7 separate regions of the Homo sapiens genome follow, and all the other regions are linked to region 1. Evidence: promoter capture Hi-C in 16 types of primary human blood cells and fetal thymus (Javierre and others, 2016). All regions are on one chromosome and are shown on one strand. Each heading gives the region's core, a stretch centred on a gene start or on the middle of the fragment in contact. The rest is flanking DNA. Distances are from core to core; before and after follow the strand shown.

Region 1 (3,548 bases), core at 636-3,135:
CCACACAGCCTCAAGTCCAAGCCACTTGCTTCACATTTGAAGTTGCCAGCTGTCAGACGGGAGATGAAGTAGAAATGGGATTGTTGTTGTCTGCACCCATTAGGACCCAGTTTTTTACAAGGGGGCATTTCCTCGCCCGATTCCAATGTGAGTTATTTTCAGGGCTGAAATTTGATTTAAATTTGGATTCCAACTTGAAGCTTAACATATCTCCAAAGTACACACTACTTTGCGGTACTGAATGAAGAATGTAAGTAGAAGGTTGCCTGCCACATGCCATGTAATGCTCTGAAGGACGGTAGAAACCACCAGCTCTCTCAGAAAAAAATGGTGGAAGAATTTTCAAAACCAAGACAGGCTGGCTTCTGTATATGCTTTGTGTAGAAATCTTGAAAGACTACACACTCAGGGGAGGAACACATATTGGGTGGAACTTCTGCCAAACTTTCAAGAGCAGCTACTTTCTAATGATCTGTAATTCAAAAAACAACCAGAACAAAAACCAGCTGGAAATGCAGTCAAAACACTGCTTTTCCATATTCCTTGCAATTATACTTTCATTTTTAGGTGGTGAGGAACACCAGGATGAGTCATTATAAAAAGCATGACTGCAGATGGCCAAGAGTGATACCGAAGCACCCTTCACCCTGAAGGTTAAGGTTAAAGCTCAAAGTCTGATCGCAAAGCATAAGGAAAAAAAAAAAGAACATGGATAAATGTATGCTGGTGTCCTTCAGCACCAGAAAAGCTGCTACTAAATCACTGGTGTGGCTTGGAATTGGTAGAAGCTTTGATTTGAGGAAAAGAGTATCATTAGCTGTGTAATTTTGAGTTGTTGTTTTAGAGACAAGGTCTCATTTTGTGGCCCAGACTGGAGTGCAGTGATGCGATCATAGCCCGCTGCAGCCTTGAACTCCTGGGCTCAGGCGATCCTCCCACCTCAGTCTCCTAGCCACTCCAGGTCTCGCTGTGTTTGCCCAGGCTGGTCTCAAATTCCTGGCCTCAAGCGATCCTCTCGCCTGGTCCTCCCGAAGTGTTGAGGTTACACGCATGAGCCACCAATCCTGGCATTATGGCATTAGCTGTGTAATTTTTAAAATAACTGTCTTCGGACCAACACCTTTCTTTTGTTCACTGGAGTATCCCTGGGGTGTGTCTCATTCCCTGAATCATACACAGTAGATGCTCAATAGTTTTGTAAATAAAATAAATGAGCTCTCGGATTTACATGCAGACTTTGGATCAGTTTGATCTAGGTTTAAAAGCAAGTGTGGGGAAACTTGAAAAGCCTGGCACCCCAGCCAACTCTTCAGCGCCCCATGCGCTTGGCGCCTACACCTGCCTGGCACGGGGAGGGTGCTATGGGGCTGCCCTAAACCTCACCCCCTCCTGCGGTGGTTCCTGCCCGTCTCGGCTCCTGCACCGCCCACACTATGCGCTGCTGGGCCGAAAGACACGTGGTTCGGTTTTAACTCCAGTCTGCAAGAAACATGACCTCAGCCAAAAAGAGGCCGCTGGTCTGAGAAGAGAAATCATGAGTCATGGATTCGGGGGTTCGGACCTTGGAGCAGGCGGTGAAGTGGGCGTGCGTGGGCTGGTGGGGAAGAGGGATGCCGAAGGAGGCCACAGCCCTTCTCTCCTGGGCAGGCTCCCCAGAAAACTGCCCCCTTGCCGTCATCCAGCGCCCCCGTTCCCGACAGCTGTCTGCCAGGGCGCGGCCGGGGTCCGGGCGGGGCGGTGCTGTCGCTCCGGGTCGCCGCCCCGCGGGCCACATCACCAAGGCCCGGGCTTCCCCGGCGGCGGCGCGGCTGCGCTTGCGCGGGGCTGCCGCGCGGGGGCGGGGCGGCGGGGAGTCAGGGGGCCGCGGGCGCCGACGGCCGGGCTGTCAGCTTGGGGCCGCAGCCGCGCGAGGAGGCGCGGGAGCAGGAAGGAGCTGTGGGCTGGGAGCCGCTGTCCTCCCCGCCACCACCGGTGCCGGGCACCAGGTGAATGCCCCTTCCATCCCCCGCCCCTGGTGTCTCGGTCTGGTCTGAGGAGACGGGGACCCTTCTCACACCGGCCGCTGCCGCCGCCGCGCTCCGGAACAGGTGACCATGGAGGGGAAGTCTCGGCTTCGGCCGCGGCGCCGCGTTCGGGCGCATCAGGTGCGGGAGGGAGGTGGGGCCGAGAGGCCTGGGCTCGGGACCCGGCGGCGGGGGCGCGGGGAGCAGAGGGAGCGGCCCCGCCCGAGCAGCCGTGCCCCCTGCGGACGCCTCTCCGGGCCGCCGGGCAGCGCCCGAGCCCAGGCCCCCGCGCCTGCCCCACCTCGGGCTGAGGGAAGCTGTTCCGCGGCCACCGCGGACAAGCGGTCCCGGGCGCCCAAGGCAGGGACAGGCGGCGGGTGGTGTATGAGTGATGGCTGAAGGTGAGCTGGGATGGAGATGCTGCGAGGCTGGCTCGGGCACACCCCAGATGCCTGTTCAGGGCTCCGCGAGTGCCCCGTCACCCTTTTCTTTCATTCTTCTCTTTATATACACGGAGCATATCTCAAATTTAAAAGCCCAAATGCTCATTTACAGAGAGAGATGACACATATCTATGTGTTACCGATATACATTGATGTGTATATTACGTATATATGTCATCTTTTTTTTGTAGTGACAATTTTTAAATTGAGATATACATCACATGCCATAAAACTCATTCTTCTAAAGTGTGGCTTTTAATATATTCACAGAGTTTTCCAAATATGACCACTATCCAGATCATCATCCCCAAAAGAAACCCTGTCTCTCTTAGTAATCACTCCTCATTTCCCCTTGACCCCACCCCACTAGCCACCACTAATCTACTTTCTGTTTATATGGGTTTGCCTGTTGTGGAAATCTCATATAAATGGAAGCGTACAATATGTGGCTTTTTGTGTCTGGCGTCGAAAGACATACTGTAATGTTTTCAAGTTTCACTCATGTAGTATGTATCAGTACTTTACTTTTTATAGCATATTAATATTGTTGTATCAGTGTACCACATTTGTTTATTCATCAGTTGATGTACATTTGGGTTGTTTCCAGTTTTTGGCCATTGTGTGTAATGCTGCTATGCACATTTGTTTACACGTTTTTGTGGACATGTGTTTTCAGTGCTCTTGGGTATATACCTAGGAGGGCAATTGCTCCGTGTTTCACTTTTTGAGGAACTGCCAAGCAAAGCAGCTGTACCATTTTACTTTCCCACTAAGCAGTGTATGAGGGTTCCGATTTCTTCACATCTTCCCCAAGGCTTGTTACTTTTTTACTGGTTATTTTTTATGATAGCCATCGTAGTGAGTGTGGAATGGTATCTCTTTGTGGTTTTGATTTGCATTTCTCTAATGATTGGGGATGCTGAGCATCTTTTCATGTGCTTATTGGCCATTCATATATTTTCTTTGGAGAAAATGTTCATATCTTTTACCCATATTTTAATTGGGTTGCTTGGCTTTTTATTTTTATTTATTTATTTATTTATTTATTTGGAGACTGACTCTCAGTCTGTCACCCAGGCTGGAGTGCAGTGGCACAATCTTG
Region 2 (3,548 bases), core at 717-3,216, 890 kb after region 1:
TAAAATGTGAAGTTTACATTACTTGAATAATATTACTTGAATAATAGTTTACTTGAATAATACATTACTTGAATAATATTAAAATGTGTTAAACAATGTTAGTAATGTTGCAATCTTTTGAAAAATTATGAACAATATCATTATTAAAGCCTCAGAATGAAACAATATTAAATACACTTACTTGTAACTCATATAACTCATTGCTGTATCTTCCATATTCAACCATTCCCCCAAATACTAATATTCTGGTACCATCACAGACAAATCCATGGGCAGCACAGCCTGGAGGGATATCTCCTCTAACAGCTGGCAGAAACCACTGATTCGTAGCTAGTTGCCAAAATAAAATGAAAACCGATTATAACAAACAACGGTTATCATATACTATCAGCAAATATATATCATCAATATCAGTGGGTCTCAACTGGGGATGATTCTGCCCCCCAGAAGACATTTGGTAATGTCTGGTGACATTTTTAGTTGTCACAACTGGAGGGGGCTGTTACTGGCATCTAGTAGGTAGAGGCAGGGATGCTGCCAAACATCTTACAATGTACAGGGCAATACAGGGCAGCTTCCCCCAACCTCAACAAAGAATTACCTGGCCCAAAAGGTCGAGAGTGCTGCTGTTGAAAAACCCTGATCTGTATCATTTAATTCTTACAAAACGCCCTGCTGGGTGAGTATAAAAATCTCTATTTTACAACTGAAAATTGTGAGGCTTAAAAAGGTTTGGTAACTTTAGCGCTGATCCTGGGCAACCGGCAGAGCAAGATTCAAATCAGGTCTAATTTGTTCCAAAGCCAGGGATTTTACACTAAGACCAAAGTGTCAGTAACTTTTTACCTTCATATGCTGGGGCGCTGGGAGGAGGAGAGGGTGAAAAAAATAAAACTTCTCAGACTCCACTATTTTGTTAACCTTCAAATTATTCCTGTGATTAAGTTGTTTGATCAAAGAAAAGTTATCGGTCATGAAGTAGACCCAAAATTCCATCACTGTCTTTACACCAAACAGATTTCTTGTGACAGCCTGAGCATTTACAAGGGGAAAAAAAAATTAAATCCAGTTTCCTTTCTATTCCACAGAGGTCCTCAAAGATAGGGGCTCCCTGCCCAGGGGCACTTGTGATCTGCAGTGGTGCTCAAGTTATGACAGTCCTCTTTCCGAGGGCCAGTCCAGAAGGGCGTCCACACCGAGTATGCAGACACAAGGCCGCCTCACCACGTCCCCGCCGCTTTAGAGCGCGGCTCACGGAGGGGCTCTTGACCGTTACCTGCCAAACACCGGGTTGTATTTGAGGCGAGAGTGCCAGAAGGCCTCTCGTTTTCCCTCCTCACCCCCTAGATGGTCTTCCTCCTAAGGAAGGAAGGCAGGCAAAGACGGGAAAGGCCCTAAGGAACTTTGGTTTGGAGTGGGTTTTGTTTTTTGACAGAGGCGAGATTTCGGGGAGTGGCCCAGGCGGTTGGACATGGTCTTCTGTCGCCTGCGTCCGCCTGTCGGGCTGGGGTGGGGGCGTCCGGGATCCCCCGCCTGAAGGCCGGTGCGCCCCGCTCGGGGTCCGTTGCGCCCCAAGGGCCCCGGAGATCCTGAGCTGCGGTCCGGGACAGAGCTGCCGGACCCGGGCTGCCCGGCTGAGCCGCGCTCCCCGCCGCCCGCCCAAGGAAGCAGTGACCGGGCGGTGACAGCTGTCAGGGCCGCGGCCGCCGCCTCGCCTCCCCTCCCCCTCCGCAGCTCCAGCAGGCGGGGCCGACGAGCCGCCGCCGCGCCTACCCGTGTTGTAGACGTGCAGCTCATCCGCGATGCCCTCATTTCCCCCTCCAAAGATGATCATCAGCTCCCGGATGGCCACCGCTCGGTGTCCGTGCCGGGCGCGGGGGACCGGCCCCGTGAAGGAAGAAACTCGCCTCCAGTTGAGGAGGCTGGGAGCCGCCATCTTCCCAACCCCCGCCCCTCTGCCCACAATGCACCGCTCCCGCCTCAACCGGCTGCTCCCTGGGGAGGGCGGGGACCCGCCTCCAGCTGTGCTGGGGTCACGTGGCCGCGGGCGCCGGCGGCCAGGCTGGAGGCCCGCGGGCAGTGGAGAGACGCTGGGGAAGGGGGGTCCTGACAGGGGAGCCCCGCCCCCACCCCAGGCGACTTGGCCAGCGGCCACCCGGAGCAACGCACCTTAGGGTGGAAGGACGCTTCCCACTGACCACGTCTCCCATCCCCACCCAGAGCCTCCCGTTCGGTATTTTGGGAAGAAGCCACAGCATCTTCCTTTACGTCCACTTTAATTGAGCATCTAGGATGTGTGGGCGAGGCAGTCTCACAAGCAACGTGAGAGAAGCTCGGGTAGAGGTTCGAAGAGCTGGGAGCGCAGGGCGGGGACCTCGCACGGGAGGGTGCGGGCGGGAGCCTGCCTCGCGAGCCCGGGCCACGGCGGCTGCTCCCGACCGTGACTGGGACCCGGGCAGGGAAGGTCGCTACAAAGCCTGCCGGGCGAACCGAAGGCAGCTTTGTGCGGAGCCATGCCAGGAAGCTTGGGAACCGTGAGCCACAAGAGGTATTTTTGGTTTGTTTGGCTTAAGCAGAGGAGAGATGGTTTTCTAGGTTTCTGTTTCATTGCTAGCTAACAAGTGAGGGCTGTCCACAGCCTGGCATGCCCTAAGTGCCTCATGTGTATTAACTCATGTAATCCATCCAGCAATCCAGTGTGGTGGCTCCTGTTATCTCCCTTTCATGGACGGGGAAATGAGGCACAGTGCAGTAAGGTAATTTTCTGATGGACACAAAGGAGAGGTGTTGAAAAAAAAGACTGGGGCCAGGATTCCAACACAGGGCTTCTGATTCCAGAACCCCCAAGCCCTTATATCATATACCATACTGCCTCTGATAGCAGTCATATCCAACCATTATACCATACTGCCTCTGGTAGCAGTCATACGCAACTCTTTATTTTTATTTATTTATTTTAGATAGGGTCTGGCTCTGTTGCCGGAATGCAGTGGCGCGATCAGAGCTCACTGCAAGCTCGAGCTCCTGGGCTCCAGTGATCCTCCTGCCTTGGCCTCCCAAAGTGCTGGAACTACAGGCATGAGCCACCGCACCCAGCCAATGCAACACTTAATAAGGCCTAGCTGCCCTGTGATTTGGTCCTACACATAATCACACAAGTCCATTAGGAATAAAACTGCACTGCATATGGGATTCATGCCAAATGAGTAGATTTTAGCCACTCTTGCCACAGAGACACAAAAAGGGTTGGTGGTAACTATATGAGATGATGGATATGTTAATATGCTTCACTATAGTAACCTTGTGACTGCCTGTTTCAGCTGTCCCCAACCTTTTTGGCACTAGGGACCGGTTTCATGGAAGACAATTTTTCCACGGACTTGGCAGGGGAGTGGGTGGTATGGACTTGGCAAGGGGATGGGGGCTATGGTTTTGGCATGAAACTGTTCCACCTCAGATCATCAGGCATAAGATTCTCATAGGGAGTACACAATTTAGATCCCTCCTATGGGCAGTTCACAGTAGGGTTCGAGCTCCTATGAGAATCT
Region 3 (3,548 bases), core at 748-3,247, 820 kb after region 1:
TTTTTGAGACAGAGTTTCATTCTTGTCGCCCAGGCTGGAGTGCAATGGCGCGATCTCAGCTCACCGCAACCTCCGCCTCCTGGGTTCAAGTGATTCTCCTGTCTCAGCCTCTCGAGTAGCTGGGATTACAGGCATGCGCCACCACGCCCGGCTAATTTTGTATTTTTTAGTACAGACGGGGTTTCTCCATGTTGGTCAGGCTGGTCTCGAATTCCTGACCTCAGGTGATCGGCCTGCCTTGGCTTCCCAAAGTGCTGGGATTACAGGCGTGAGCCACCATGCCCAGCCCCTTCTCCCAATTCTATTACTTTATATTTCCTGCCTTTGAACCTTTGAACACATCATTTCACTCCTTAATCTCCACTTTATGGGTAAGCATAGAGAAAGGGAGAAATTAAACTCAGGCCAATTTTTCCTTTTTTTTTTCTAAGCAAATAACACCTTTTAAATGTTTGATGGAGATTGAAGAAATTCATGCTATATAAAGATCTTAGGATAACTTTTTTTTTTTTTTTTTTTGAGATGGAGTCTTGCTCTGTCGCCTAGGCTGGAGTGCAATGGTGTGATCTCGGCTCACTGCAACCTCTGCCTCCCGGGTTCAAGCGATTCTCCTGCCTCAGCCTCCTGAGTAGTTGGGATTACAGGCGCCCACCACCACGCCCGGCTAATTTTTGTATTTTTAGTAGAGACGGGGTTTCGCCATGTTGGTCAGGCTGGTCTCGAACTCCTGACCTCAGGTGATCGGCCTGCTTCGGCCTCCCAAAGTGCTGGGATAACTTTTTTTTTTTAAAGGGCTTTCTATGTATACATTATCCCAAACAACCCTGAGAAGCAGACATTTGGCCAAGATCACAAGCCTGTAAGAAGGGGAGTTGGAATTCAAGTCAGGTTGTCTGATGACAGTGGCATTGCTACTTACTCCTCTTGTCACAATTTGGGGCTTTCATTTGTCTTTTCTTCCATACTTGCCGCAGAAATGTTTAAATACTCTGAGAAACAGTAGGAACTCTATAAATAAAAGATCTCTGTATTTTTACATAATCAAAGCTGGAGAGTTTAATGTGGTGCAGGCCACTCGGTTAGTGGAAGCAGAGGGCATGCCATCCCCAGCTCCGGTTGCAGTGAGTGGATCCAGTGTTGGATTACCCACCTCTGGGATGGTCACTGCTAAGCGAAGCTGAACTCAGGACTGCAGTTTGAGAAAGACAGCGAAGGAGCTTGGCTGCACAGAGGCAAGAACGGGCCACGGATTCTTGCAGCCAAAATGTCATCTGGTTGGGAAAAGCCGCTTGTCAATCTGCAGCTACTAGAGGGGTGGGGGTGGGTGGAAAATGCAGCATCTTAAGTTCAAGATTCAGGGTGAAGGCTGGCTAGACTTAGCAGGGGTCTGCATCTTTAGATGAAATGTGAAAAACACCCAAGCTCAGGGACCAAATGACAGGGAGCGCTGTGCATGCGGCGACGCTAACAGGGACCCAAGGAAAGAAAACACGAGGCGCTGAAGGCGCTCCAGGAGGCCCCCGCCGTTCAGACCCTCCCGGTGGCTCGGGCGCGTCGTCCTAGGGGGCGGCTTCTGTCCTTGGTTTCCCCTTCTTAAAAATCCAGGCGCAGGCAGGCTGAGCTCAGGCGGCTGAGGCACCTCCACGTGGCGGGGGAAGGGGTGACAAAGAGAGGGACGCCCGAGAGATCCCGCTTCGCACAGGCCCGGGTCAGCACCGGGAAGGAGGCCCGCCTAGACCCGAACGGCGCGCCCGGGCAGGGCCCTGGAAGACCTCGCGCCTAGAGGAGCGGCATCCGGAGCGGCGCGGAGGCCTCACAGGAACGCGGGACTGGGCCGGGGGCGGGGCGGGGCCGGGGGCGGGGCGGGGCGGGGCGGGGCCGCGGCGGGCGGGCGCGCGGGCGGCGCGGAGGGAGGGTGTCGCGCCGAGGGAAGCGGCCCGCGGCGGAGGGAGGGGAGGCCGAGTCCTGGAAGCGGAGCTCCGCGCTGGGACTGGTTCCTTCGCAGCCATTTTCTGTCCAACCAAACAGCCGATTGGAGACGGGAGCCAACCAGGGCTGCATTGGAGGTTTGTGTCTCGCTTCGGCCAATGATCGCTCCTAAACCGACTCCACTTTAGCTCGAATGAAATGTCCGTCTCCTCCCGGCGCCGTCCCCGCCGCCAACGCCGCCGCGGCCGGGGGCACTAGCCTCCCGCCCTCCCGCGCGGGCCGAGGCCGGGCCCCGCGCCTGCGAGGCCGCTCCCGCAGCGGGCCGGGCCGGGGAGCGGGCGCGGGGCCGCGGCGCGGCTCTTTGTGCGCCGGGCTGAGGAGCGGCGGGACGCGGGCCAGGCCACCTCACCCTCGCCGCCGTTGAGCTCCGGGCCCGGGGCCGAGGAGGGGCCGCGGGGCTGCGTCGGGGCCCCGCTCTCGACGGCGTCCCGGGCCGGCTCCATTTTGTGCGGGGAGCCGGCCGAGGGGCGGGAGACGCGGCCCGGGCCCTGGCCCCGTAGCCCCGGCGGCGGCGCGAGTCCCCGGGGGCGCCCTCCTCCCGCCCGCGGGGCTGTGGCGGGGCCCGGCGCTTTGTCTGCCCGCACATCCCGGGGGCCGCGCGGCGGGTGGGAGGCAGGCGTTGGGCGCGGGGCCGGGGCGGCCGGGCGAGTCAGGGGATGCGCTCTGGGGGCGGCCTCCTGGCACTCGCAGGGCTGACAGGTCGCCGGGACCAGGCCGTGGGGCCGGGGCCACCCAGGCACCTGCGTGGGGAGGAAGGCATGGCTTTAGCTTCCCCGCAGCCTGGTTTGCGCGTAAAGAATGCAGCCATCTGGCGGTTTGCGGTCCCTGTACTTGCCCCGAAGGTGGGAAGGAAGCCCTTCGGATTGGACTAAGGTTTTAATCATTAGTGGTGGGAGGCGGGAGGATATGCAGGGCCTTAAAGAACGGTAGTCTTAGAGAACAAAGAATTACAGAGCACCCACAAATCGTAATCTCGCCCAAAGCACTCTAACAGGATAATTTAAACAAGGTTAGGTAGCCTGCGACCTTTAAAAAAATGGCATCCCACTAACCCGCATGGACCCCATAGTTGCGTGGTTCGTGCTACAAATCACTGGGGTGGTTTCATCTCTCTTAGTATGGAAACTAATCAGCAACATAAAGTGATGAAAGCAAACGGATCAATATCAGTGGCACTAATCAGTGGGGGGTTTATTTGTAAAGTATTGAAAGTTTAACCAAAATTCCTTAAAAGGCAAATTATTCCTTCCCTGCATTGCTCTTGTATCTTAATTTAAGGATTACTGTATATTGATGCAAAACTCTGGTTGTTGATGCCAAAGAATGGAGGGTGGAGGAAGGGACTACTGCTTTTCTTGGATACAAATTTGCATTTCTTAAAACATTAAACAGATGTATGCATTCCCTTGAGCTTTTACATATATCAACCTGCCCTTAAGAAAATATACACCATATGAGGTGACAGTGTTTTTCTTTAATGTACTGAGTCTAAATATATACTGAATCAACTATTTGGGTGAGTGAGTGTGGTGTGGTATGACTCCCTGCCCACACCCCCC
Region 4 (3,548 bases), core at 499-2,998, 790 kb after region 1:
GAGTAGCTGGGACTACAGGCGTGAGCCACCACACCTGACTAATTTTTGTGTTTTTAGTAGAGATGGGGTTTCACCATGTACTTAGATTTATCATGCCTTGAAAATGGACCATTTAAAATGTTTTCTCACATGGCTCTACAACTTACTTGTCTTGGGCCATTTTTTAATTCCCTAAACTAGAGGTTCCCAGCCTTTTTGCACCAGTGATCGGTTCTGTGGAAGATAATTCTTCCACAGATGGGAGCAGGATGGGGGGATGGTTTCATCAGTCATTAGATTCTCCTAAGGAGCATGCAACTTAGATGCAGCCCAGATCCCTCACATGCACAGTTCACAATAAAGTTCATATTCCTATGAGAATCTAATGCCACTGCTGATCCGACAGGAGGCAGAGCTCAGGTGGTAATGTGTGCATTAGGGAGCAGTTGTAAATACAGGTGAGCTTTGCTCACTTGCCTGCTGTACACCTCCTGCTGTGCTGCTCGGCTCCTGCTGTGCTTCTCGGTTCCTAACAGGCTGTGAACCAGTACTGGTCCATGGCCCAGTGGTTGGGGTCCCCTGCCCTAAGCTGTATTGGACTGAACAGACTCTTGAATTCCAGAGACCTCCAAGAACTCAGAGGCACTCCAGGAACCAATAGAGGCAATTCAACAAGTGGTACTTTATTCACTAAGGAAGGATGGAACCCATGCCAGCAGACCTAAGCCTTCAGAGTTGGTGATAAGCTTACATATGAGATCACAAAATCAAAATCCTTCAGGCTTGTTACCAGTAAAGATTTTTAAACATATGTTTTGGAGGAAAAACTGATTTGGAAGTTGACAGTTCATCTGCCCTTTTGATCTTTGTGTCAGTCTATGCTTATCTTTTTATTTCTTGGTACATTACAGAGTTCTCATTAAGTCACGCTTGGAATGCATGCTTACCCTGTGCTCACAGTTATCTTTAGGGAGGGTTTGTGGCTAGTAGTCCTCCCCAGCAGGTGAGGGCCCAGGGCAAAATACATTCTGTCCCTTCCTTCCAACTCTAAATGTTTAAGGCAAGATAAGTCATATTAAAATTACCACAAAGAACAGCCTCAAGTGGAAAATAAGACACACAATAAGATGACTTAGGAACATAAGGGAACCCAGTATCCTATAACCTGTCTGCCTCTGGTGTTGCAGGAATTTGTGGGCTGACTGTGTGTGAGTCTTTCCATTATTTTCTATTGCTCACTAACTGAGCTATTGTCACACCCAGTTGGTCACCACACAGAAGCTGGATCCAGAAATACCACTGGAGGCCGGGCATGGTGGCTCACGCCTGTAATCCCAGCACTTTGGGAGGCTGAGGCAGGTGGATCACCTGAGGTCAGGAGCTCGAGACCAGCCTGGCCAACATGGTGAAACCCCATCTCTACTAAAAATACAAAAATTAGCTGGGCGTGGTGACAGGTGCCTGTAATCACAGCTACTCGGGTGGGTGAGGCAGGAGAATTGCTTGAACCGGGAGGCAGAGGTTGCAGTGAGCCAAGATTGTGCCACTGCACTCACTCCAGCCTGGGTGACAAGAGTGAAACTCCATCTCAAAAAAAAAAAAAAAAAAAAGTCTCACTTTTGCTGTTCTTCGTGCCTGTAAGTCCATTCTTTGGGACTGGATGGGTGAGTGTCTTTCTCACAGGCAGAAACACAACTTGATATCACGGAGAAAGGAAACAAGAAGAAAATGAAGCCATGCTGTATTTTAGCTTGTGGATATTAATGTTGCTATTTGCATCATTTCCCACAGTTGTTTTGACATGAATAGTCCAGGAGCGTGCTAGGCAAGGGTTTTCTGAGCATGGTGGTGGTCGTACGGGGTGGTGGTGGGGATAAAGTGGAGAGAGAGAATATGACAGGTGTATAAACTGGCCTGAGCCACCATGTTGCACAGCTGCAGGGGGTGCTATTCACTATAGTCTAAGTGAATGGTGCTCCCTGGAGTCATGCACGGCATCATCTGAGCCTTGGAGGTTTAAGAGAATAAAGTAATCATCTCACTAGTCCAGCTGAGAAATGTCCTGGCCGACAGACAAGCAGTCCTCTCCCAGCAGCCTAAACCACTTTGTCTACTCAGTGGTTTTTCTCTCTACTCACACCACTTAATACTTCACTTCTGACACCAGATGTGTGTGGGTTTTTCTCCATACACCAAGGAATTCTCGTCAGGCACCAGCTTTGCATCCTATAATTCCATTCGATTCTGACACTATCTAGAGATAGCATCAGATCCCATGGGTTGAGGACCCAGTCCCATAAGACTGCTTTAGATGCCAGTTGCAAGCCCAAGGTTGTGATTAGTGCTTCCAGCCAATCAGCTATTGAGAAGGAACAGAGGTCCCTGCTAGGCACCCTCAAGCATGGAAATAAAGGCAAATCTTGAGTTCATTTAAGGGAAATCCTGGGAACCTAGCTAGCCCTGAGAAGTAAATGAGCAACTTAATAAGCAAAAAGGTAATAGTAGCTTAAAACAATAGCCAAGGAAGTTAGAGTCATGAGATGTTTGGTTCTCTATAGAAACTAAAGATAACATGTTAACAAATAGCCCTGAGTTGTTCTTTAGAAATCCAGACCCCTGCCAAATGGATCCACTGGCACACGGACCTCAGATAAGGGGAGAACACTGAGGACTGAACTCTGGCTGCCATTCTTTGTTCTAAATTTCTTCCTCAGGGGCCAGGAGGAAGTCACGCCCATGGGCCAGACCTAACATTGTTTTCTGATGACCCCAAGTCTTTAGATGAAGCTTTCCTTCCCTAACCAATTGCAAATCAGAAAATCTTTTAATTGACCCATGACCTGTAAGCCCTTGGTTGAGGATATCCTGCCTTTTTAGGCCAAACTGATGTTTAACCTCCAAGTATTGGTTTACAATTTTGCCTGTAACTTCTGCTTTCCTGAAATTTACCTGTACCTTTAAAAACCCTTGGCTTGCAGAGGTCAGATCTTGAGCATGAACTGCCAGATTCTCCTTGCATGGCACACTGCAAATAAATGCCCTCCTTTCTCTCACTGCAAAATCTCAGCATGGATGTTTGGCCTTACTGTGCCAGGCAAGCAGGCCCCAGCTCAGTTTGGCAACACTATAAACTGGAGTTACCATGACCTCCTCCTTGGGTTCAACTAAATTGCTAGGACAGCTCATAGAACTCAGGGAAACACTTTACTTATGTTTATCCATTTCTTATAAAAGATATAATGAACAGATGGATGGAAGAGATGCATCAGAAGGCTTATGAGAAAGGGCACGGAGCTTCCATGCCCTCTCTGGGTGCTCTACCATCCAGGTACCTCCATGTGTTTGGCTATCAAGAAGCTCTTCAGGCCAGGTACGGTGGCTCACCCTTGTAATTCCAGCACTTTGGGAGGCTGAGGCGGGCGGATCACTTGAGCCCAGGAGTTTGAGACCAGTCCGGGCAACATGGCAAAACCCTGTCTCTACAAAACATACAAAATTAGCCGGGCCTGGTGGCGGGCACCTGTAGTCCCAGCTACTCAGGAGGCTGAGGTGGGAGAATCACTTGAGCC
Region 5 (3,548 bases), core at 698-3,197, 750 kb after region 1:
TTATAATAGCCAACAATTTGTTGGGTACTTACGGCGAGCCAGGCATCCTGCTAAGTCCTTTACTGGCATAAAAGTATGCTTATCTCATGTTTTTCCTGCAAGAGCCACATTTAGAAGGGTCTCTTATTATTCCTATTTTACAGAGGAGAATCCTGATGCTTAGGGGATTAATTGCACAGGATCACACAGCTTGATACTGAAATCCAGGTTTCCTAATTTCCAAGCCTCTGCTCTTAACCACTAACCTCTCTTATTACTATGACATCACACTCCACTAATTCCTATACATGAAAAGAATGTTTCCCTGGGAACTTTGTTTTGAGATTTAATTTTTTTAATTTTTTTTTTTTTTATGAGATGGAGTCTCACTATGTCGCCCAGGCTGGAGTGCAGTGGTGAGATCTTGGCTCACTGCAAGCTCCTCCCGGGTTCACGCCATTCTCCTGCCTCAGCCTCCTGAGTAGCTGGGACTACAGGCGCCCGCCACCACACCCAGCTAATTTTTTTTTATTTTTAGTAGAGACGGGTTTCACCGTGTTAGCCAGGATGGTCTCGATCTCCTGACCTCGTGATCCCCCCGCCTTGGCCTCCCAAAGTGCTGGGATTACAGGCTTGAGCCATCGCACCCGGCCTAATTTTTTTTTTTTTTTTGAGATGGAGTCTCACTCTGTCACCCAGGCTGGAGTGCAGTGGTGCCGTCTTGGCTCACTGCAACCTCCACCTCCCGGGTTCAAGCAGTTCTCCTGCCTAGCCTCCTGAGTAGCTGGGACTATAGGTGCACGCCACCACACCTGGCTACTTTTTTGTATTTTTAGTAGAGATAGGGTTTCACCATGTTGGCCAGGCTGGTCTTGAACTCCTGACCTTAGGTGATCCACCCGCCTTGGCCTCCCAAAGTGGCGTGAGCCACTGCACCTGGCCATTGAGTTTTAATTTAATTATACATGATTTGTTTAAAGAGCATCAAAAGGGAGGGCATCTCTTTTCTTTTTTTGAGACAGAGTCTCACTCTGTCGCCCAGGCTGGAGTGCAGAGGCACACTTTCAGCTCACTGCAACCTCCATCTCCCGGGTTCAAGCAATTCTCCTGCCTCAGCCTCCTGAGTAGCTAGGATTACAGGTGCATGCCACCACACCCAGCTAATTTTTTATATTTTTGGTAGAGACGGGGTTTCATCATGTTGGCCAGGCTGGTCTCAAACTCCTGACCTCAGATGATCCACCCACCTCGGCCTCCCAAAGTGCTGGGATTACAGGCGTGAGCCACCATGCCTGGGGGAGGGCATCTCTTTTCTACCCAATAATAATTAATTCCCAGTCCTCATCTTACTTGGCCTATCCATGACATATGACCCATGTTTCATAATCTCCTCCTTAGAATGATTGGCTTCCAGGGTACCACACTAACCTAGATTTTCTCCTATTGTGCTGGATGCCCCTACTCAGTCTCCTTTGCTGGTTCCTCCTCAATTTTCCTGGCACTTAATATTGAAGTACTAAAGCTCAGTCCTCGAACTTCTCCCCTCCTCTCTCTCTTATAATCTGCATTTGCTTCTCTGGTGATCTCCTTTAGTCTCAGAGCTTTAAATGTCATCTATCTGCTGACAACTCCCAAACTTATGTCTCCTGCTGCAGCCACTTTCATTAACTCCAGGCTCACATATTCACCTGGCACCTGGCATCTCCACTTGAGTGTCTAATAAACATCTCAAGCCTAAAATGTCCAAGCAGATTGTCCCCTCCCAAACCTATTCCCACGGTCTTCCCCATCTCAGAAAATGGCAACTCCATTCTTCCACTTGCTCAGGCCAAAAACCTTGGCGTCATCCTTGATTCTTCTCTCTCATACTCCACCTTCAATTGGCCGGCAAGTCCTGTCCACTCTACCTTCAAATGATATTTAAAAATGAATAAATTGGCCGGGAGCGGTGGCTCACGCCTGTAATCCCAGCTCTTTGGGAGGCCGAGGCAGGTGGATCACGAAGTCAGATCGAGACCATCCTGGCTAACATGGTGAAATCCCCTCTCTACTAAAAAAATACAAAAAAATTAGCCAGGCGTGGTGGCAGGCGCCTGTAGTCCCAGCTACTCGGGAGGCTGAGGCAGGAGAATGGCGTGAACCCGGGGGGCGGAGCTTGCAGTGAGCCGAGATCCCGCTACTGCACTCCAGCCTGGGCGGCAGAGCGAGACTCCGTCTTAAATAAATAAATAAATAAATAAATAAATAAATAAATAAATTCCCTACATCCAGCTTATAGGAAAAAGAAGATAAAGGAACAAGTTAAACAACACTATGGGGATGTAAATGGCAAAATCCAGAATCTGCCAATTTCATCCACAAATACAGTAATTGCAAGGGAAGAAAAAGAGGAAGTGGGAACTTATTGATGAAAAGAGACTTAGGATATATGAAGTACCCAGAGTTGTCAAATTCGCAAAGACAGAAGGTAGAATAGTGGTTGCCAGGGATTTGGGGGAGGGGGAAATTAGGAGTTTAATTTAATGGGTACAGAGTTTTAATTTGGTAAGATAGAAGTAGTTCTGGAGACGGATGGTGTGATGGTTCCACACAGTGTAAATGTGCTTAATGCCACTAAGCTGTATACTTTAAAATGCTTAAAATTGTCAATTTCTCATGTATATTTTACTACAATATAAAGAGGGAGAGAGAGAGAGAGACAGGAGACACATCAACCAAATGCAGTGCACTTTGGGTTCTGATGTCAAAAAAAATCAACAAATTAATTTTTAAAAAAATTGTGGCCGGGCGTGGTGGCTCACGCCTACAATCCCAGCACTTTGGGAGGCAAGGCAGGTGGATCCCCTGAGGTCAGGAGTTCGAGAGCAGCCTGGCCAACATGTTGAAACCCCATCTCTACTAAAAATACAAAAATTAGCTAGGCGTGGTGGTGCGCGCCTGTAATCCCAGCTACTTGGGAGGCTGAGGCAGAAGAATCGCTTGAACCCAGAAGTCGGAGGTTGCAGTGAGCCGAAATCACACCATTGCACTCCAGCCTGGGTGACAAGAGCAAGACTCTGTCTTTAAAAAAAAAAAAATTATTTATATATGAAAACATTTTGAATATGGACTGGATACTTAAGATTGTTAATGTTTTATTTGTGATTCTATTTGTGTAGTAAGGTTTTTAAAAAGTACTTTTCTTTTAGAGATACATCCTGAAATAGTCGCAACTGAAATTATTATGTATCTGGGATTAAAAAAAAAAAATCTAATAGGCCAGGTGTGGTGGCTCAAGACTGTAATCCCAGCACTTTGGAAGCCCAAGGCAGGTGGATCACTTGAGGTCAGGAGTTCGAGACCAGCCTATCCAACATGGTGAAACCCCGTCTCTACTAAAAATACAAAAAAAATTTAGCCGGGCATGGTGGTGCATGCCTGTAATCCCAGCTACTCCGGAGGCTGAGGGAGGAGAATCACTTGAATCCAGGAGGCGGAGCTTGTGGTAAGCCGGCATCGTGCCATTGCATTCCAGCCTAGGCAACAAGAGCAAAACTATATCAAGGAAGGAAGGAAGGAAGGAAGAGAGA
Region 6 (3,548 bases), core at 619-3,118, 710 kb after region 1:
TTTTTTTTTTTTTTTTTGAGACAGAGTCTCGCTGTATCGCCCAGGCTCCAGGCTGGAGTGCAGCGGCGCGATCTCAGCTCACTGCAAGCTCCGCCTCCCGAGTTCACGCCATTCTCCTGCCTTGACCTCCCGAGTAGCTGGGACTACAGGAGCCCGCCACCACGCCTGGCTAATTTTTTTGTATTTTGTTTAGTAGAGACGGGGTTTCACCATGTTAGCCAGGCTGGTCTCGAACTCCTGACCTCGTGATACGCCCGCCTCGGCCTCCCAAAGTGCTGGGATTACAGGCGTGAGCCACCGCGCCCGGCCCCGAAATGTCATTTCTTACATACAAAAAAAATGAAAACTCCCAGTGCTGATAAATGTACACTGAAGTGAGTCCACAGGGCTGTGTAACACAAGCTAATACTATTCTTTTGAAAAACAATTTGACAGTGTGGGTCAAAAACTACTCAAATGGCCATACTTTTTTTTTTTTTTTTTTTTTTGAGACAGGGTCTTGCTCCAACACCCAGGCTGCAGTGCAGTGGCTCCATCTCGGATCTCGGCTCACTGCAACCTCCTGAGATGGCCATACCTTTTAACTCAGTATTCTTTTTTTTTTTTTTTTTTTTTTTTTGAGATGGAGTTTCGCTCTTGTTGCCCAGGCTGGAGTGCAATGGTGTGATCTCGGCTCACCGCAACCTCTGCCTCCCAGGTTCAAGTGATTCTCCTGCCTCAGCCTCCTGAGTAGCTGGGATTACCGACATGTGCCTGTGCCACCATGCCCAGCTAATTTTGTATTTTTAGTAGAGACGGGGTTTCACTATGTTGGTCAGGCTGGTCTGGAACTCCCAACCTCAGGTGACCCGCCTGCCGCAGCCTCCCAAAGTGCTGGGATTACAGGCGTGAGCCACCGCGCCGAGCCTTAACTCAGTATTCTTATTTGTGACGACTAGCTTTAAAAAAAAAAATCTAAAATAATGAAAACATTGAAAGACCCCTACCTCCTAGCCTTCTCTTAGGAAAAGCTTTCAGTAGTTTTTATTAACATAGCTATTATCACCTAGTTAAATGGGGATAGTCCCAAATTCCCTTTCAATAAAAGTGCTATAGCTTTAGGATCAATCATGTTAACTTCCTGTAAAACCCAGTGGAACAAAACAGGCCACAGGCCTATCAATACTCACCATTCCGGACCTCCTGAACATGTCCATAACCTTTCTAGATACAGGGACAAAGTTATACCTTGCCACAGCTTTTCTCTCTCCCAAGCCTAAGCTGCAAAGAGGTTCTCTCCCTGCTCTACAGCCTACACCCCTTTCTTTTCCCTGTCTTCAATCCCTTCTTTTTATCCAATTATTACCAATGATTTCATTGTAACATCATTAGCTATTGCAAAAAATTAGAAACAACAAATGTCTGACATTAGAGGAATGGCTAAATTACAGTAGCTCTCTTGTTCTAACCTTATTTAGTGGCTGCATACTATTCAAGATTCAAAATAATGTAGAAATAGTTTGACACAATTGTTAGTTTTTTAAAAACCTAGAATACCAAGTCCTATGTACCATAGTTTTACAATTCTGTGAAACTCGACATATAGGAATCCTGAAAAAGAATGTGCAAAATGGTCATATTAGTTATATTGGCGTGACAGAATTATCCATGACTTTTCTTTCCTGTATTTCCCAAACTTAAAAAAAAAATTAAAGTTGCATACCAGCCTATTGCATTTGTTCCTGTCTCTGACTTCACTAAACAGAGAAATTCATTGAAATCTTTGTACTCTTAGGGATATAAAGCAAGATATTTGAACTGTGGGATTAGTAAAGGGATTACTAAAGGAAAACACTTCCACTCCAGGACACTCCTCCTCAAGAAACATCTTCATACAATTCATATGTGTTTGTACCTGCCAAAACCACTGACTCTCACCCATGACTACTGCCACCTGAAAGCCTGCAGAGAGCCAGGTTTTGAGTGGCTCTCAGTCTACACATTGCTTAGAGAGCTATATAACTGATACTTATCTCTTTGGAGAAACCTTGATCAGCCACTTAGCTGTGGGAAGAAGCTCTAGTTTGACAACAGAGGAACATCACGGTACATAAGGAATGCAACTTAACTGGGGGAAACTGGAAAACAGAAAGGTAGCATGAAATATGAAAAGCACAGGTAATAAAGCCACTGTCCTATTTTGAGTTATCCCCAAGTGGCATTTCACAGTAAACCAGGACAATGAATGAACTTCAAAGCAGGGAAACAAAGGGGAAAGCAAAGAGGAGCCTGGCAGATGAAAGCACATGGCAAGGCTAAACACAGACTAAAACTGCCATGTGTTAGAACTTGAGTTTTCGCCATTAATGAGCAACACGATCACTTCAAGTGTGATGATAAAAATTTTATAGCACGCCACTCTGCCTGCTGTCTTCACTTTCTGGTTTACAGGTTTGTCATGCACATATTTTTACTCGTTGCCTGTGGTTAAAAGCATCTGGACTGCAAGTCAGAAGAAATCAAGGATTTCCACAGAACCCCAGACCTCTTAACAAAACTCATTCAGTTCAAGCTCAAGGAGTATGGCAAACACACCACCACTCTCAGAAGATTCCTTTTAACAAAGTAAGAATTATTACAATATTATATTCAACCCACAAGACACACAAATATTACTCTTGGGTCTGACAAGACCCCATCAAGTAAAGAAGTTACTCCATAAGAGACCCAAGAGTGGGGAAGCTTAAATGGGTAAGCTATACCCATTACAGTGTCTATAAATCAAGTGAAGACAAGAAAGTAGTTATATGTGTTTCTGAAAGTCTGTAGGATATGAGACAAGCTGGAAAAATAAAACAGAAGTCTTTATGGAAACACACGGAAGGAAGACTAAAGACTCCCTAAAAGGACATGATAATGAATTTCTAGTGTTGAAATTAATAATAAGTACATTGTAGTTATTAGTATTATTTATTTACCAAATTGAAATAAAACCCTAGGTAGGTTTTTTAGCCTTAAAAGGATTTTTAGTTTTTACAAATAAATGTCATAAGAAGAACTTAAGTGCTATAAAAAGGACTACAATATCCTGTTTATAGCTCTTGTGCTTGTACCTCCTTCAAAGGAGTCTTATTTAAGGTTAAGATTAAACCTTAGTTATGTTGGGGTCCTAGCCAAGAATTCCCACTTGCCTCACTCCACAGTTGTATTCTAATATGATTATATGCCAGGTCCAGGATTCAGTGGCTGCGTGAGCCTGAGAATACACATTTGAAAGGAACTCTCTTTTCTGCAGAGGACTGGTTTATGGAATGGTTCATGATAAGAGAAATTACGCCAGAAATCCATGTAGGCTACCACTGTAACTAGACACTGTGTGTTTGAGGTAGGAGAGGGTGGGGGTTAGTCTTGGTTTACTGGATCACTCAGCACCAAGAGTCTCCTGTCAGGGTTGGGCTCTACCACAGGGAACGTGGAAGAGGTACTGAAGGACCAAATGGAAGAAGAAAAACATATCCTTTCTTTCACCTAGCTGTAAATTTAATATTGATGCTGTTAATAAGATAAGA
Region 7 (3,548 bases), core at 607-3,106, 680 kb after region 1:
AAGTCAAATCCAGGTTCTATTACTAACTGCAAAGCCAAGTTACTAAGCCTCTCTGCTTCTTCATCTTCTTTCTACAAGGCCCTTTGTGGTCCTTCCACCCCTTCATCTCACCCAAACTTCTCCTCAATCCCCATGATTCAGTCATTAGCTTGCTTTCAGTCCCTGTAATTACTGTCCTCCCTCCCACCACAGGGCTTTGCTAACTTCCAAGCATTGAGCAAATCTAGTTTGAACAGGTTTTCCTTGGGAAAACCAACAGAGAAGTCAAATCCCCCTATGAAATGTTCTCATGTTACCATCTATTCTTTCTGCCTAGTACTTACTACAATTGCAATCATACTTTTATGAGTATTTGATCAATGTCCACCTCCCTCACTCTAGAATAGCACAGTCCAAGAGGACTTTCTGTGGTGATGAAAATATTCTAAATCTACACTGTCCAACCCAATAGCCACTCACCACATGTGACTATTAAGTACATAAAAGATGGCTAGTACAGGTGTGGATGTGAAGTTCTAATGTTATTTAAGTTTAATTAATATAGATGTACATAGCCACATGTGAGCAGGGACCAGGATTAGTTATGCTCACCATCATGTTCCCAGCACTTAATATAGTATGCACACATAGTAATTGATCAATAAATAATTGTTGAGAGATTAAATCTGTAAAAATGCAGATATTACTTAGTTAATTTGTATATTCCATCTTTTTCACAGAGAAAAGGAGAAAAAAAAGCTTTTACAAGGTAAATGTTAGGGGGTCCTCAGTTTTATAAAGGTAATTTGGCCTTTAAGAATTTGATCAGAGGCTGGGTGCGGTGGCTCACGCCTGTAATCCCAACACTTTGGGAGGCCGAGGCGGGCGGATCACGAGGTCAGGAGATCAAGACCAGCCTGGCCAACGTGGTGAAACCCTGTCTCTACTAAAAATACAAAAAAGTAGCCAGGTGTGGTGGCGTGCACCTATAGTCCCAGCTACTCAGGAGGCTGAGGCAGGAGAACTGCTTGAACCCGGGAGGTGGAGGTTGCAGTGAGCCAAGACGGCACCACTGCACTCCAGCCTGGGTGACAGAGTGAGACTCCATCTCAAAAAAAAAAAAAAAAAATTAGGCTGGGCGCAATGGCTCAAGCCTGTAATCCCAGCACTTTGGGAGGCCAAGGCGGGCGGATCACGAGGTCAGGAGATCGAGACCGTCCTGGCTAAAATGGTGAAACCCGTCTCTACTAAAAACGCAAAAAATTAGCCAGGCTTGGGGGTGGGCGCCTGTAGTCCCAGCTACTCGGGAGGCTGAGGCAGGAAAAAGGCGTGGACCGGGGAGGTGGAGCTTGCAGTGAGCCGAGATCACGCCACTGCACTCCAGCCTGGGCGACAGAGCAAGACTCCGTCTCAAAAAAAAAAAAAAAAAAAAAAAAAAAAAGAATTTGATCAGAGGCCAGGCATGGTGGCTCACACCTGTAATCCCAGCACTTTGGGAGGCTGAGGCGGGTGGATCAGAAGGTCAGGAGATCAAGACCATCCCAGCTAACACGATGAAACCCCCTCTCTACTAAAAATACAAAAAAATTAGCCGGGCGTGGTTGTAGGCGCCTGTAGTCTCAGCTACTCGGGAGGGTGAGGCAGGAGAATGGAGTGAACCCGGGAGGCGGAGGTTGCAGTGAACCAAGATCACGCCACTGCACTCCAGCCTGGGTGACAGAGTGAGACTTCGTCTCAAAAAAAAAAAAAAAGAATCTTGCCAAAGGTCACAAACCAGGTAAGTGTTGGAGCTGGTATATAAATCCAACTGTGCCTACCTCCAAATCCATTGTTTGTCTTACAATTAAATAATATAGAGTGAGGAACAGGCTAAAAACCGGTAAAAACAACAAGTAAATCCGGTAAACTTGATTTGTAGGGACAAAAAAAAAACCCCGGTAACCTTCTGATAACAAACAAGGAAAATCATCCATGAATCATCCACCCTGAAAACTCTGGAATCTACTGAGGGGACTATGACCTGTAGTCATTCTGTCTTTATTTCTTTTGTTTATTTGTTTGTTTTTTGGAGACAGAATCTTGCTCTGTCATCCAGGCTGGAGTGCAGTGGCACAATCATAGCTCACCACAGCCTCAAACTCCTGGGTTTAAATGATCCTCATGCCTCAGCTTCCCAAGTAGCTGGCCAGAGGCACACACTACCGTGCCTGACTAATTTTTTTTTTTTTTTTGAGACAGAGTCTTACTTTGTTGCCCAGGCTGGAGTGCAGTGGCGCGATCTCAGCTCACTGCAAGCTCCGCCTCCCGGGTTCATGTCATTCTCCTGCCTCAGCCTCCCTAGTAGCTGGTACTATAGGCGCCCGCCACCACACCCAGCTAATTTTTTTTTTTTTTTGTATTTTTAGTAGAGACGGGGTTTCACCGCATTAGCCAGGATGGTCTTGATCTCCCGATCTTGTGATCCACCCGCCTCGGCCTCCCCAAGTGCTGGGATTACAGTCATGAGCCACCGCACCCGGCCTATGCTTCATTTAAAAAAATGTTTTGTAGAGACAGGGTCTCGCTTTGTTGCCCAGGCTGGTATCAAACTCCTGGGCTCAAGCAGTCCTCTCACCTCAGCCTCCCAAAGTGCTGGGATTATAGGCATGAGCCACTGTGCCCGGCTCCCATCTTTATTTCTTATATCAAGCTATATGAAAGACATCTGTTTACATGTCCCCACTCTTAGAACCATCACTTAATGAACACCTCTGTGCCAGGAACTTTACATGTTCTCAGTCATCTCAATAACCCTTTGGGATATATATTATTATCTCCATTTACAGATGAGTAACCCAAGTTTAAGTGACTGTCCCAAGAGCCGACAGCTAGTCCAGGATTTACGCCTGCATGCTCTTCACTCTCCACCACAGTATTATTTACTTGAGGGGTTGGTCTTTCTTACCCTGGCATCTGGCACAGTGCCTTTCCCATAATGGGCACTCACTCAAGCTTCAAATTCAACTGGCACTTCAGCAGGCTTTTGACTGTTAGTGAAGTGGAAAAGAGAAGAAAGGGAGTGTAAGGTGTTCTGGTAAACCAGTTCTGAGTGGTGGTGGGGAGGCCCTGATTTGTAGTATTTGCTAATTTCTGGAGTTGAATACTCCCACTTTGGCTAATTTCAAGCTACCAACCTACTTGCAAAATTCCTTGATGTTTAACAAGGGGTCTCTTGAGCTGGTACGAGCCAGCTCCAGCACACTGCCCAAAGGCTCAAGTCGTCAGGTACAAGTTACTTTCACTTCTCTGTCTTCTCTTCCCAGCAGCTCTCTATACTTACATGTCACTGCAACCTCAGAAGAATAAGGATTGTTCTACCTCTGCTAAAGCTCGCCTTTACCAGAGCACTACAACCTATAACCTATCCCAATTCCAAGTGGTCTTAGGGGACCCCACCTTTCTTCAACATCCTCTTCCTATCTTGTATTCAGGGCCGTTTAAGCCATTCCGCCTTCAAATGTGCCCAGGTCTCCTCTTTTGTAAATCTCTGGGCTAATCCCATAGCATCATCTGGCGTTCTACTAACAAGC

The links. Contacts are between HindIII fragments. The CHiCAGO score rates a contact against its expected background, and 5 or more counts as called.
Region 2: the fragment with the promoter of HCFC2 here is called in contact with the fragment with the promoter of SLC41A2 in region 1 in 8 of 17 cell types (total CD4 T cells, total CD8 T cells, naive CD8 T cells and 5 more); the score reaches 12.7 in total CD4 T cells.
Region 3: the fragment with the promoter of NFYB here is called in contact with the fragment with the promoter of SLC41A2 in region 1 in 5 of 17 cell types (activated CD4 T cells, naive CD8 T cells, fetal thymus and 2 more); the score reaches 5.6 in activated CD4 T cells.
Region 4: a fragment that was not itself captured here is called in contact with the fragment with the promoter of SLC41A2 in region 1 in 7 of 17 cell types (non-activated CD4 T cells, endothelial precursors, naive B cells and 4 more); the score reaches 8.1 in non-activated CD4 T cells.
Region 5: a fragment that was not itself captured here is called in contact with the fragment with the promoter of SLC41A2 in region 1 in 4 of 17 cell types (fetal thymus, activated CD4 T cells, total B cells and 1 more); the score reaches 6.9 in fetal thymus.
Region 6: a contact is called between a fragment that was not itself captured here and the fragment with the promoter of SLC41A2 in region 1, in 2 of 17 cell types (total B cells and naive B cells). The highest score is 7.6, in total B cells.
Region 7: a fragment that was not itself captured here is called in contact with the fragment with the promoter of SLC41A2 in region 1 in 1 of 17 cell types (total B cells); the score reaches 5.1 in total B cells.

Annotation. Positions count from the first base shown.
Region 1 is chr12:104,956,627-104,960,174 of GRCh38, reverse strand. It overlaps SLC41A2 (solute carrier family 41 member 2), which reads left to right and starts at 1,885. Exons shown (of 11, transcript NM_001352171.3): 1 at 1,885-2,087. RefSeq lists silencers at 1,707-1,976, 2,167-2,496. The HindIII fragment of the contact is 5,296 bases long and covers 791-3,548 here.
Region 2 is chr12:104,062,949-104,066,496 of GRCh38, reverse strand. HCFC2 (host cell factor C2) reads right to left here and starts at 1,966. Exons shown (of 15, transcript NM_013320.3): 1 at 1,774-1,966; 2 at 182-330. The coding sequence starts at 1,936. It also overlaps a transcript of GLT8D2 not described here. RefSeq lists silencers at 1,590-1,729, 1,950-2,119, 2,101-2,270, 2,280-2,439. The HindIII fragment of the contact is 6,452 bases long and covers 1-2,526 here.
Region 3 is chr12:104,136,659-104,140,206 of GRCh38, reverse strand. It overlaps NFYB (nuclear transcription factor Y subunit beta), which reads left to right and starts at 1,997. Exons shown (of 8, transcript NM_006166.4): 1 at 1,997-2,066. RefSeq lists enhancers at 1,260-1,429, 2,253-2,844, 2,845-3,438 and silencers at 1,814-2,113, 2,164-2,263, 2,364-2,443, 2,504-2,633. The HindIII fragment of the contact is 8,431 bases long and covers 1-3,548 here.
Region 4 is chr12:104,165,113-104,168,660 of GRCh38, reverse strand. No RefSeq gene overlaps it. Among named protein-coding and RNA genes, the nearest start is that of LINC02385, 3.1 kb to the left of the region's middle. The HindIII fragment of the contact is 2,041 bases long and covers 728-2,768 here.
Region 5 is chr12:104,209,397-104,212,944 of GRCh38, reverse strand. No RefSeq gene overlaps it. Among named protein-coding and RNA genes, the nearest start is that of TXNRD1, 4.6 kb to the left of the region's middle. RefSeq lists an enhancer at 3,048-3,217. The HindIII fragment of the contact is 6,114 bases long and covers 1-3,548 here.
Region 6 is chr12:104,242,589-104,246,136 of GRCh38, reverse strand. The region is part of intron 1 of TXNRD1 (thioredoxin reductase 1); the gene reads right to left. Among named protein-coding and RNA genes, the nearest start is that of TXNRD1, 29 kb to the right of the region's middle. RefSeq lists an enhancer at 2,088-2,257. The HindIII fragment of the contact is 1,711 bases long and covers 1,013-2,723 here.
Region 7 is chr12:104,276,062-104,279,609 of GRCh38, reverse strand. All of the region lies in intron 3 of TXNRD1 (thioredoxin reductase 1), which reads right to left. The region is part of intron 1 of TXNRD1-AS1 (TXNRD1 antisense RNA 1); the gene reads left to right. Among named protein-coding and RNA genes, the nearest start is that of TXNRD1-AS1, 3.0 kb to the left of the region's middle. RefSeq lists an enhancer at 3,491-3,548. The HindIII fragment of the contact is 2,232 bases long and covers 741-2,972 here.